Regions from separate parts of the Homo sapiens genome. Here all the other regions are linked to region 3. Evidence: promoter capture Hi-C in 16 types of primary human blood cells and fetal thymus (Javierre and others, 2016). All regions are on one chromosome and are shown on one strand. The core of a region is centred on a gene start or on the middle of the fragment in contact, and the rest is flanking DNA. Distances in the headings are between cores, read along the strand shown. Region 1 overlaps PCDHGA1 (protocadherin gamma subfamily A, 1). Region 2 holds the start of PCDHGC4 (protocadherin gamma subfamily C, 4). Region 3 holds the start of PCDHB15 (protocadherin beta 15).

The links. Contacts are between HindIII fragments. The CHiCAGO score rates a contact against its expected background, and 5 or more counts as called.
Region 1: a fragment that was not itself captured here is called in contact with the fragment with the promoter of PCDHB15 in region 3 in 1 of 17 cell types (fetal thymus); the score reaches 6.4 in fetal thymus.
Region 2: a contact is called between the fragment with the promoter of PCDHGC4 here and the fragment with the promoter of PCDHB15 in region 3, in 3 of 17 cell types (naive B cells, total B cells and total CD4 T cells). The highest score is 6.3, in naive B cells.

What each region holds. Positions count from the first base shown.
Region 1 is chr5:141,426,589-141,429,288 of GRCh38, forward strand. The region is part of intron 1 of PCDHGA1 (protocadherin gamma subfamily A, 1); the gene reads left to right. The region is part of intron 1 of PCDHGA2 (protocadherin gamma subfamily A, 2); the gene reads left to right. The region is part of intron 1 of PCDHGA3 (protocadherin gamma subfamily A, 3); the gene reads left to right. All of the region lies in intron 1 of PCDHGB1 (protocadherin gamma subfamily B, 1), which reads left to right. It also overlaps PCDHGA4, PCDHGB2, PCDHGA5, PCDHGB3, PCDHGA6 and PCDHGA7, and 10 more genes. Among named protein-coding and RNA genes, the nearest start is that of PCDHGA12, 2.6 kb to the right of the region's middle. The HindIII fragment of the contact is 1,107 bases long and covers 898-2,004 here.
Region 2 is chr5:141,483,607-141,486,589 of GRCh38, forward strand. PCDHGC4 (protocadherin gamma subfamily C, 4) reads left to right here and starts at 1,424. Exons shown (of 4, transcript NM_018928.3): 1 at 1,424-2,983. The coding sequence starts at 1,568. The region is part of intron 1 of PCDHGA1 (protocadherin gamma subfamily A, 1); the gene reads left to right. All of the region lies in intron 1 of PCDHGA2 (protocadherin gamma subfamily A, 2), which reads left to right. All of the region lies in intron 1 of PCDHGA3 (protocadherin gamma subfamily A, 3), which reads left to right. It also overlaps PCDHGB1, PCDHGA4, PCDHGB2, PCDHGA5, PCDHGB3 and PCDHGA6, and 12 more genes. RefSeq lists a silencer at 1,295-1,522. The HindIII fragment of the contact is 2,008 bases long and covers 461-2,468 here.
Region 3 is chr5:141,243,841-141,246,811 of GRCh38, forward strand. It overlaps PCDHB15 (protocadherin beta 15), which reads left to right and starts at 1,555. Exons shown (of 1, transcript NM_018935.4): 1 at 1,555-2,971. The coding sequence starts at 1,739. It also overlaps PCDHB@ and the pseudogene PCDHB19P. The HindIII fragment of the contact is 5,789 bases long and covers 1-2,971 here.

The DNA of each region.
Region 1 (2,700 bases), core at 201-2,700, 180 kb after region 3:
TCATACCCTTAGAGATTGTAGCAGAGAATCCTCTAAATGTTTTTCACATAAATGTGATGATAGAAGATATAAATGATAACCCACCTCATTTTCCCCAAAATAGCATTGTTTTACAAATCAATGAACTAGCAATTCCAGGCATTCGGTTTGGCCTGGAATCTGCTATAGATGCAGATGTAGGGCCTCACTCTCTCCAGAGTTACCAGCTCAGTTCTAATGAACATTTCTCTCTGATGATGGACAAGACTAAAGGCAAGAACGCTCCAGAATTAGTGCTGGAGAAGCCCCTGGGCCAGGAGCAACAGAGCTCTCATCTCCTGGTCCTGGAAGCAATGGACATGGGTGACCCAGTCCCAACTGGCACTGCTGCAATTCAAATTGAGGTCACTGATGCCAACGATAATGCCCCAGTTTTTAGCCAGGATGTATACAAAGTCAGCCTTAGAGAGAATGTGCCCCCAGGCACCTCTGTACTAAAGGTGACAGCCACTGACCAGGATGAGGGTGTCAATGCGGAGATCACCTACTCTTTCAAATCCCTACGAGATGATATTGGAAATATGTTTGTGCTAGACCATCAAAATGGGGAAATTAAATCCAAAGACTTAATAGACTTCGAATTTCGTAGCAGTTATACCATGAGAGTAGAAGCTAAGGATGGTGGAGGCATGACCAGCGAATGTAAAATTATACTAGAAATCCTAGATGAGAATGACAATGCCCCAGACGTGGTTTTTACTTCAGTGTCCAGTTCTGTAACTGAGGACGCAGAACCCTGGACGGTGATCACTCTGTTCAAAACACATGATAAAGATTCGAGAGAAAATGGGGAGGTTACATGCCTCATAAACGAAAGAGTTCCTTTTAGAATCGAATCTTCCGCCAATAATGACTATAAGCTTGTAACAGATGGGACCCTGGATTGGGAGCGGATCCCGGAGTACAACGTCACCATCACTGCCACTGACAAGGGCAAGCCTCCGCTCTCATCCAGCACAAGCCTCACCCTACGCATTGGTGAAGTCAACGACAATGCTCCGGTTTTCCACCAAGTCTCCTACGTGGTCCACGTGGCCGAAAACAACCTTCCCGGAGCCTCCATCCCACAAGTCAGCGCCTCTGACCTGGACCTAGGGCTGAATGGCCAAGTCTCCTACTCCATCGTTACCACTGACTTGGAGCTGCGGGCACTGTCGTCCTACGTGTCCGTGAGCGCACAGAGCGGGGTGGTGGTCGCGCAGCGTGCCTTCGACCACGAGCAGCTGTGCGCCTTCGAGCTCACGATGCAGGCCCACGACCAGGGCTCGCCCGCGCTCAGCGCCAACATGAGCCGGCGCATGTTGGTGGGCGACCTCAATGACAATGTGCCGCGGGTGCTGTACCCCGCGCTGGGGCCCGATGGCTCCGCACTCTTCGATATAGTGCCACGCGCCGCAGAGTCCGGCTACCTGGTGACCAAGGTGGTGGCGGTGGACGCAGATTCGGGACACAACGCTTGGCTGTCCTACCACGTGCTGCAGGCCATCGAGCCCGGGCTTTTCAGCCTGGGGCTGCACACGGGAACCTGCTGGTTGCTGTGCGTGACGGAGGACAGCCGCCGCTCTCTGCGCCGCTACGCTTCACCTAGTCTTCGCAGACAGCCTGCAGGAGGCACTGCCAGACTTCAGTGACAGTCCTGTGCCCTCTGATTCCCAAGCAAAGCTGCAGATTTACCTGGTCGTGGCCTTGGCCTTGATTTCTATGCTCTTCTTCCTCGCAGTGATTTTGGCGGTCGCCTTGCACCTGCGATGCTCTTCCAGCCCCTCTGCCTGGGGTTGCTTTCACCCTGGTCTCTGTTCTAAGACTAGACCAGGGGTTTTTCCCAACTACAATGAGGGAACTTTGCTTTATTCCTGCAATCTGTATGTTCCCTCGGATTCTAGAAAAAGAAGATTTAATTTTCTCACCATGACACCAGAAACAGTCCCCCCACAAGATCTTTCTAATGAAGTTTCTCTGGTAGCAAGCTTCACTGAAGAGAATAACAAGATAAGCTCTAACTCTGTTGCTCCTACTCACGTGAGTTCCAATGAATGTCTTTCATTTACAAATGGATGAGGTTTAATTTTCAAACCAATATTTTGGCAAGAAAATCTTAAACATATTATATCTACTATTGCTTCAGGTTTGTTTGCCCACTCTTAATATTTCCTGTTCCTTTCTGTGTGGGCCAGTAACTTCATTATTAGCTTTCATGTATTTTTGAAACATTTTCACCATTTTTACGGGAGACTTTTTTTTTTTTTGGACGGAGTCTCGCTCTGTGGTCCAGGCTGGAGTGCAGTGGCATGATCTCGGCTCACTGCAAGCTCTGCCTTCCGGGTTCTGGCCATTCTCCCGCCTCAGCCTCCCGGGTAGCTGGGACTACAGGCGCCCGCCACCACGCCCGGCTAATTTTTTGCATTTTTAGTACAGACGGGGTTTCACCGTGTTAGCCAGGATGGTCTCGATTTCCTGACCTCGTGATCTGCCCGCCTCGGCCTCCCAAAGTGCTGGGATTATAGGCGTGAGCCACTGCACCCGGCCCGGAGACATTGTTTATACACACACACACACACACACACACACACACACACACGTGTGAAAAGTGGGTATTATGATACTGCTGTCATTGAGATATTTTAATTGAGGAATAAATTTTTTTCCTGTGATGTTTCTTGG
Region 2 (2,983 bases), core at 174-2,673, 240 kb after region 3:
CTCCATCATTCCCATGGGAGAAGGTATAGAGGGGTGTGTGTTTGTGTGTGTGTGTGTGTGTGTAAAAGAACACAGAAAGCCAGATTCCTCTTTTTGACACCAGAATATTGGTTCCCACCATAGTCAAAAGGATATTCCTGAGGATCGAGGCTTGGAAAAATATTGGGGAAGGATAAGAACTCCAGTTGTTGCTGCTTTTTTTGGCAGCCAGTGTAACCTAGGTAAGGACTTGGTTGAATTAAGAAATTTCATGTCCAGATCAGGATGGATTTTTCTATTTCTCTGAGCTCTGGTGTGTTTCCCACTCAGATTGCAGGTCGTAGGTACCTACGGTGTGAATTGTGTTGTGTTTCTGTGCTTGTGCAAGGGAGTAGCTAGGTTGCTGGGAGGTCTGGATGAGGGTGGGGGTGGGGTGAGATCAAGTCTCCAGCTCCAAGAGGTCCCCTGGGGCTAAGTGAAAAGCTTGCTCTTTTGAAATGGTCTTCGTTGGTAATTAACAAAAGATCAAGAATACCTTGGTGTCAGATAAAGGGAATTTGTAGGCACAATGCTGTTGGTAGCTGATCTCAATCATTCAAGGAAGCTATTAAATCTATGAACATTAGCATTCTGCCAGGTAAAGAGATCTGGTCCTTAGCACCTCCCAGACACACTGATTCTTTACTGTTTTGAAACATCTCCCTCTCCTGGCTTCCTCCACCCCGCTTCCATACTGTCCTTGAAATCAATGAATGGTAATTTAGTGTATCTAGTGTATCACTAGCAAATGTCTGAATAAGAAAGGTTTGGTTTCCGCTGTGTCTCCTGTTACAATGAGAACATGTACTGCATAAATTTAATTGGCTACGTTAATGTGTAAGCCTTTTCTGCAAAGAGATGGATCCGTTTCTGAATATTCTGCAGAAGGGCAGAGTTTTGAGTATATGGCAGTGGTTCTAATTAGCAGTTGCTCCAATACAATCAGACTGAGACGGAAGCTACTCATTTAGAATACTGGTTGATGACAACACTGGCTTGAACAAAGTGACCACTCTCCAATGGCTACTCTCCCTCTCAGTGGGCCGCAGGTTGCTAGGGCTCAGGCTGTGGCTGTTTTCCCCGCCGAAAAGGGGCGGGGTCAGTCGGTGTGTTAGGAAAAAAAATGTATATATATATATATGTTGTCTGCCTCCCCACAGAGATAACAACCCGTGGAAAAACATGCCGTTGAGCGGGAGGAAGGCGAAAAGATAGGCTGGGTTTTTTGGGGGGTGGGGGAGCGTGGAGGATAGGGTGGGCTTTTTCCCCTCCAATGCTGCGACGCATTAACCCTGCTGCTGTTGGGACGTTCTCTGCTCAGCCTATTGGCTGAGCCCGGGAGCCGCTGTCTGCCAATCGGGTGGTGAAAGGCAGACAAATCTACCCCGCCACCAGCAAAAACGGCGCGTAACCCTTGCGGCGCCGGCCGAACCGCGCCAGAGCTGGCGCGGGGAAAGGGAGATAGGTGTCTCCAGCTGCTGTGGCTGTTTGGGGCGGGTCGGCTTCATCCGCGTCTCAGGAGCAAGTAGAGAATTAGCGGGCGGCAGCAATGCTCCGCAAGGTGAGAAGCTGGACAGAAATCTGGCGGTGGGCTACCCTTTTGTTCCTCTTTTACCACCTGGGTTACGTTTGTGGGCAGATCCGCTACCCGGTCCCAGAGGAGTCACAGGAAGGGACTTTTGTAGGGAATGTCGCTCAAGATTTCCTGCTGGATACGGACAGTCTGTCAGCTCGCAGGCTGCAGGTCGCTGGAGAGGTGAACCAAAGACACTTCCGTGTGGATTTGGACAGCGGAGCCCTGCTCATCAAGAACCCAATCGACCGAGAGGCACTGTGTGGGCTCAGTGCCAGCTGCATCGTGCCCCTGGAGTTTGTCACCGAAGGTCCTTTGGAAATGTACCGAGCAGAGGTAGAGATCGTAGATGTGAATGATCACGCCCCCCGTTTTCCGCGGCAGCAGCTGGACTTGGAAATTGGGGAGGCAGCTCCTCCAGGACAGCGTTTCCCGTTGGAAAAGGCTCAGGATGCAGATGTGGGGAGCAATTCGATTAGCAGCTATAGGCTGAGCTCCAATGAACACTTTGCACTGGATGTGAAGAAGCGCAGCGACGGCAGCCTGGTCCCAGAGCTGCTCCTGGAGAAGCCTTTGGATCGAGAGAAGCAATCGGACTACCGCCTGGTGCTGACTGCTGTCGATGGAGGGAACCCGCCGAGATCTGGCACCGCAGAGCTCCGGGTATCCGTGCTGGACGTAAACGACAACGCCCCAGCCTTCCAGCAATCCAGCTACAGGATTAGTGTGTTGGAGAGCGCACCAGCGGGCATGGTGCTCATCCAGCTCAATGCCTCAGACCCGGACCTGGGTCCCAGTGGTAACGTCACCTTTTATTTCAGTGGTCATACCCCTGATCGTGTAAGAAACCTCTTTAGCCTGCACCCCACTACTGGAAAGCTTACTCTTTTGGGGCCCCTAGACTTTGAGAGTGAGAATTACTATGAATTTGATGTGCGGGCTCGCGATGGGGGTTCTCCAGCCATGGAGCAACATTGCAGCCTTCGAGTGGATCTGCTGGACGTAAATGACAATGCCCCTTACATCACAGTGACCTCAGAGCTTGGAACCCTCCCCGAGAGTGCAGAACCTGGCACTGTGGTGGCACTTATCAGTGTGCAGGATCCAGACTCAGGGTCAAACGGAGATGTGAGCCTCCGCATTCCTGACCACTTGCCATTTGCCCTCAAGTCTGCCTTCAGGAACCAGTTCTCCCTGGTGACTGCTGGACCCTTGGATCGAGAGGCCAAATCTAGCTATGACATCATGGTCACTGCTTCTGATGCTGGGAACCCTCCTCTCAGTACCCACAGAACTATTTTCCTCAATATTTCAGATGTGAATGATAATCCACCCTCTTTCTTTCAGAGGTCACATGAGGTGTTTGTTCCTGAGAACAATCGCCCAGGGGAC
Region 3 (2,971 bases), core at 305-2,804:
ATCTTTCCAATGGTACAGTCTTTGAAGTGTTTAATAGAAATTCTTAGAACATTTTATTATATAAGAGTTTTGAATATCGTAAGTGTCATAATAACATTACTGTAAAAAAAAAACCTTGACAATGAAAAATGTGTGTCTAAAAGAGACATAATCCTTATCTTTAGGGTCATCATAATCTTGTTATGTTCTTTCTTTCTGTCATATAATATATCCCTTGCTTATGGGTAGCTAAGTTGTTTTGCCACTTAATGAAATGACATTTTAGGTCATTCTGAGTTATTTCACATTACTATTTAAAGGGCATAGGAAATAGCTACCTTATGAACATGTTGTCTTTGTTTATCCATCTTATATAATGAACTTGAATCCCAGAAGAAGAGGGAATTTCTACAGTAGGAGGAGAACCTATCTGTCAGAATGTTTAAATTAATTGTGATTTATTAATGGATCCATTTAACAAATATTTATTGAGCACGTACCATGTGCCAGGGATTATTTTAGATATTGGGGATGCAGCAGTGAACAAAATGAAGTTCTAACATGTGAGGTTGAAACAGAAAGGAAACAACTAAATAAGTACATCTATACTACGTCAGATAATAAATACGAGAGAGACAAGGCAGGGCTGGGTACAGCAGCTCATGCCTATAACCCCAGCACTTTGGGAGGCTGAGGCAGGAGGATTGCTTGAGCTCGGAAATTTGAGACCAGCCCGGGCAACATAGCAAGACCTCATCTTTACAAATAATTAAAACATTAGCCAGGCATGGTGATGCGCAACTGTGGTCCCAGCTACAGTTGCTGAGGTGGGGGGATTGCTTGAGCCTGGGTAGTCAAGGCTGCAATGAGCAGTGATTGTGCCACTGCACTCCCTCCTGGACAACAGAGCAAGACCCCATCTCAAAAAAAAAAAAAGGAAAAATGAAAAGAAAAAAAAGAAAAAGCAAAGTAAGAGATATAGGAAGTGCCTTCATATGTATTTTTCCACAGTTTAAAATTTTCATAAAATCATAACTCTCTGACTTTATGTAGAAAGGATACCACACTGGAATTAACGTGTAGCTTTTTCTTGATGTAATCCAACCAATGGGAGCACAATTCTGGTACATAGGCTGTCTAGAATTTGAAAGAAATTAAAGAATTCATTTTGTTTTGCTGATAAATTTTTAAGAAATCACGTGGCTTTATGTTATTATTATTACAAGATGACTGATCACTATTATGTCTTCTTTCACTTCTCAATTTCCCTCAGAACACTACACCCAGACTACAGGCTCTGGAGGGTGGGGACCATGTCTGGGTTGTTTACTGATGTATTTCATAATTTGGCACATAGAGACCAATAATACTCCTTTAAATGAAGAAATTAATAATTACCATTGCGTGATATTGTGATTACATCATTTCCTCCCAATTTCCAAACTCCTAATAGAATAGAGAATAGATCAATTGTAGCAATTCGTTTCGAAGCAAAGACAACGCATGGTGGCGCTGCAGGCTAAGGCTTCAAAAAAAGGAAAAGGAAAAAGCCCATGAAATGCTACTAGCTACTTCAGACCTCTTTCAGCCTAAGAGGAAAGCCTGTTAGCAGAGCACGGACCAGTGTCTCCGGAGAATGCTATTCTCCTACATTTCCGAACAGGTTATCAACGCACAGATCGATCACTGCCTCTGTCCCATCGCTCCCTGAAGTAGCTCTGACTCCGGTTCCTTGAAAGGGGCGTGTACAGAAGTAAAGATGGAGCCTGCAGGGGAGCGCTTTCCCGAACAAAGGCAAGTCCTGATTCTCCTTCTTTTACTGGAAGTGACTCTGGCAGGCTGGGAACCCCGTCGCTATTCTGTGATGGAGGAAACAGAGAGAGGTTCTTTTGTAGCCAACCTGGCCAATGACCTAGGGCTGGGAGTGGGGGAGCTAGCCGAGCGGGGAGCCCGGGTAGTTTCTGAGGATAACGAACAAGGCTTGCAGCTTGATCTGCAGACCGGGCAGTTGATATTAAATGAGAAGCTGGACCGGGAGAAGCTGTGTGGCCCTACTGAGCCCTGTATAATGCATTTCCAAGTGTTACTGAAAAAACCTTTGGAAGTATTTCGAGCTGAACTACTAGTGACAGACATAAACGATCATTCTCCTGAGTTTCCTGAAAGAGAAATGACCCTGAAAATCCCAGAAACTAGCTCCCTTGGGACTGTGTTTCCTCTGAAAAAAGCTCGGGACTTGGACGTGGGCAGCAATAATGTTCAAAACTACAATATTTCTCCCAATTCTCATTTCCATGTTTCCACTCGCACCCGAGGGGATGGCAGGAAATACCCAGAGCTGGTGCTGGACACAGAACTGGATCGCGAGGAGCAGGCCGAGCTCAGATTAACCTTGACAGCGGTGGACGGTGGCTCTCCACCCCGATCTGGCACCGTCCAGATCCTCATCTTGGTCTTGGACGCCAATGACAATGCCCCGGAGTTTGTGCAGGCGCTCTACGAGGTGCAGGTCCCAGAGAACAGCCCAGTAGGCTCCCTAGTTGTCAAGGTCTCTGCTAGGGATTTAGACACTGGGACAAATGGAGAGATATCATACTCCCTTTATTACAGCTCTCAGGAGATAGACAAACCTTTTGAGCTAAGCAGCCTTTCAGGAGAAATTCGACTAATTAAAAAACTAGATTTTGAGACAATGTCTTCGTATGATCTAGATATAGAGGCATCTGATGGCGGGGGACTTTCTGGAAAATGCTCTGTCTCTGTTAAGGTGCTGGATGTTAACGATAACTTCCCGGAACTAAGTATTTCATCACTTACCAGCCCTATTCCCGAGAATTCTCCAGAGACAGAAGTGGCCCTGTTTAGGATTAGAGACCGAGACTCTGGGGAAAATGGAAAAATGATTTGCTCAATTCAGGATGATGTTCCTTTTAAGCTAAAACCTTCTGTTGAGAATTTCTACAGGCTGGTAACAGAAGGGGCGCTGGACAGA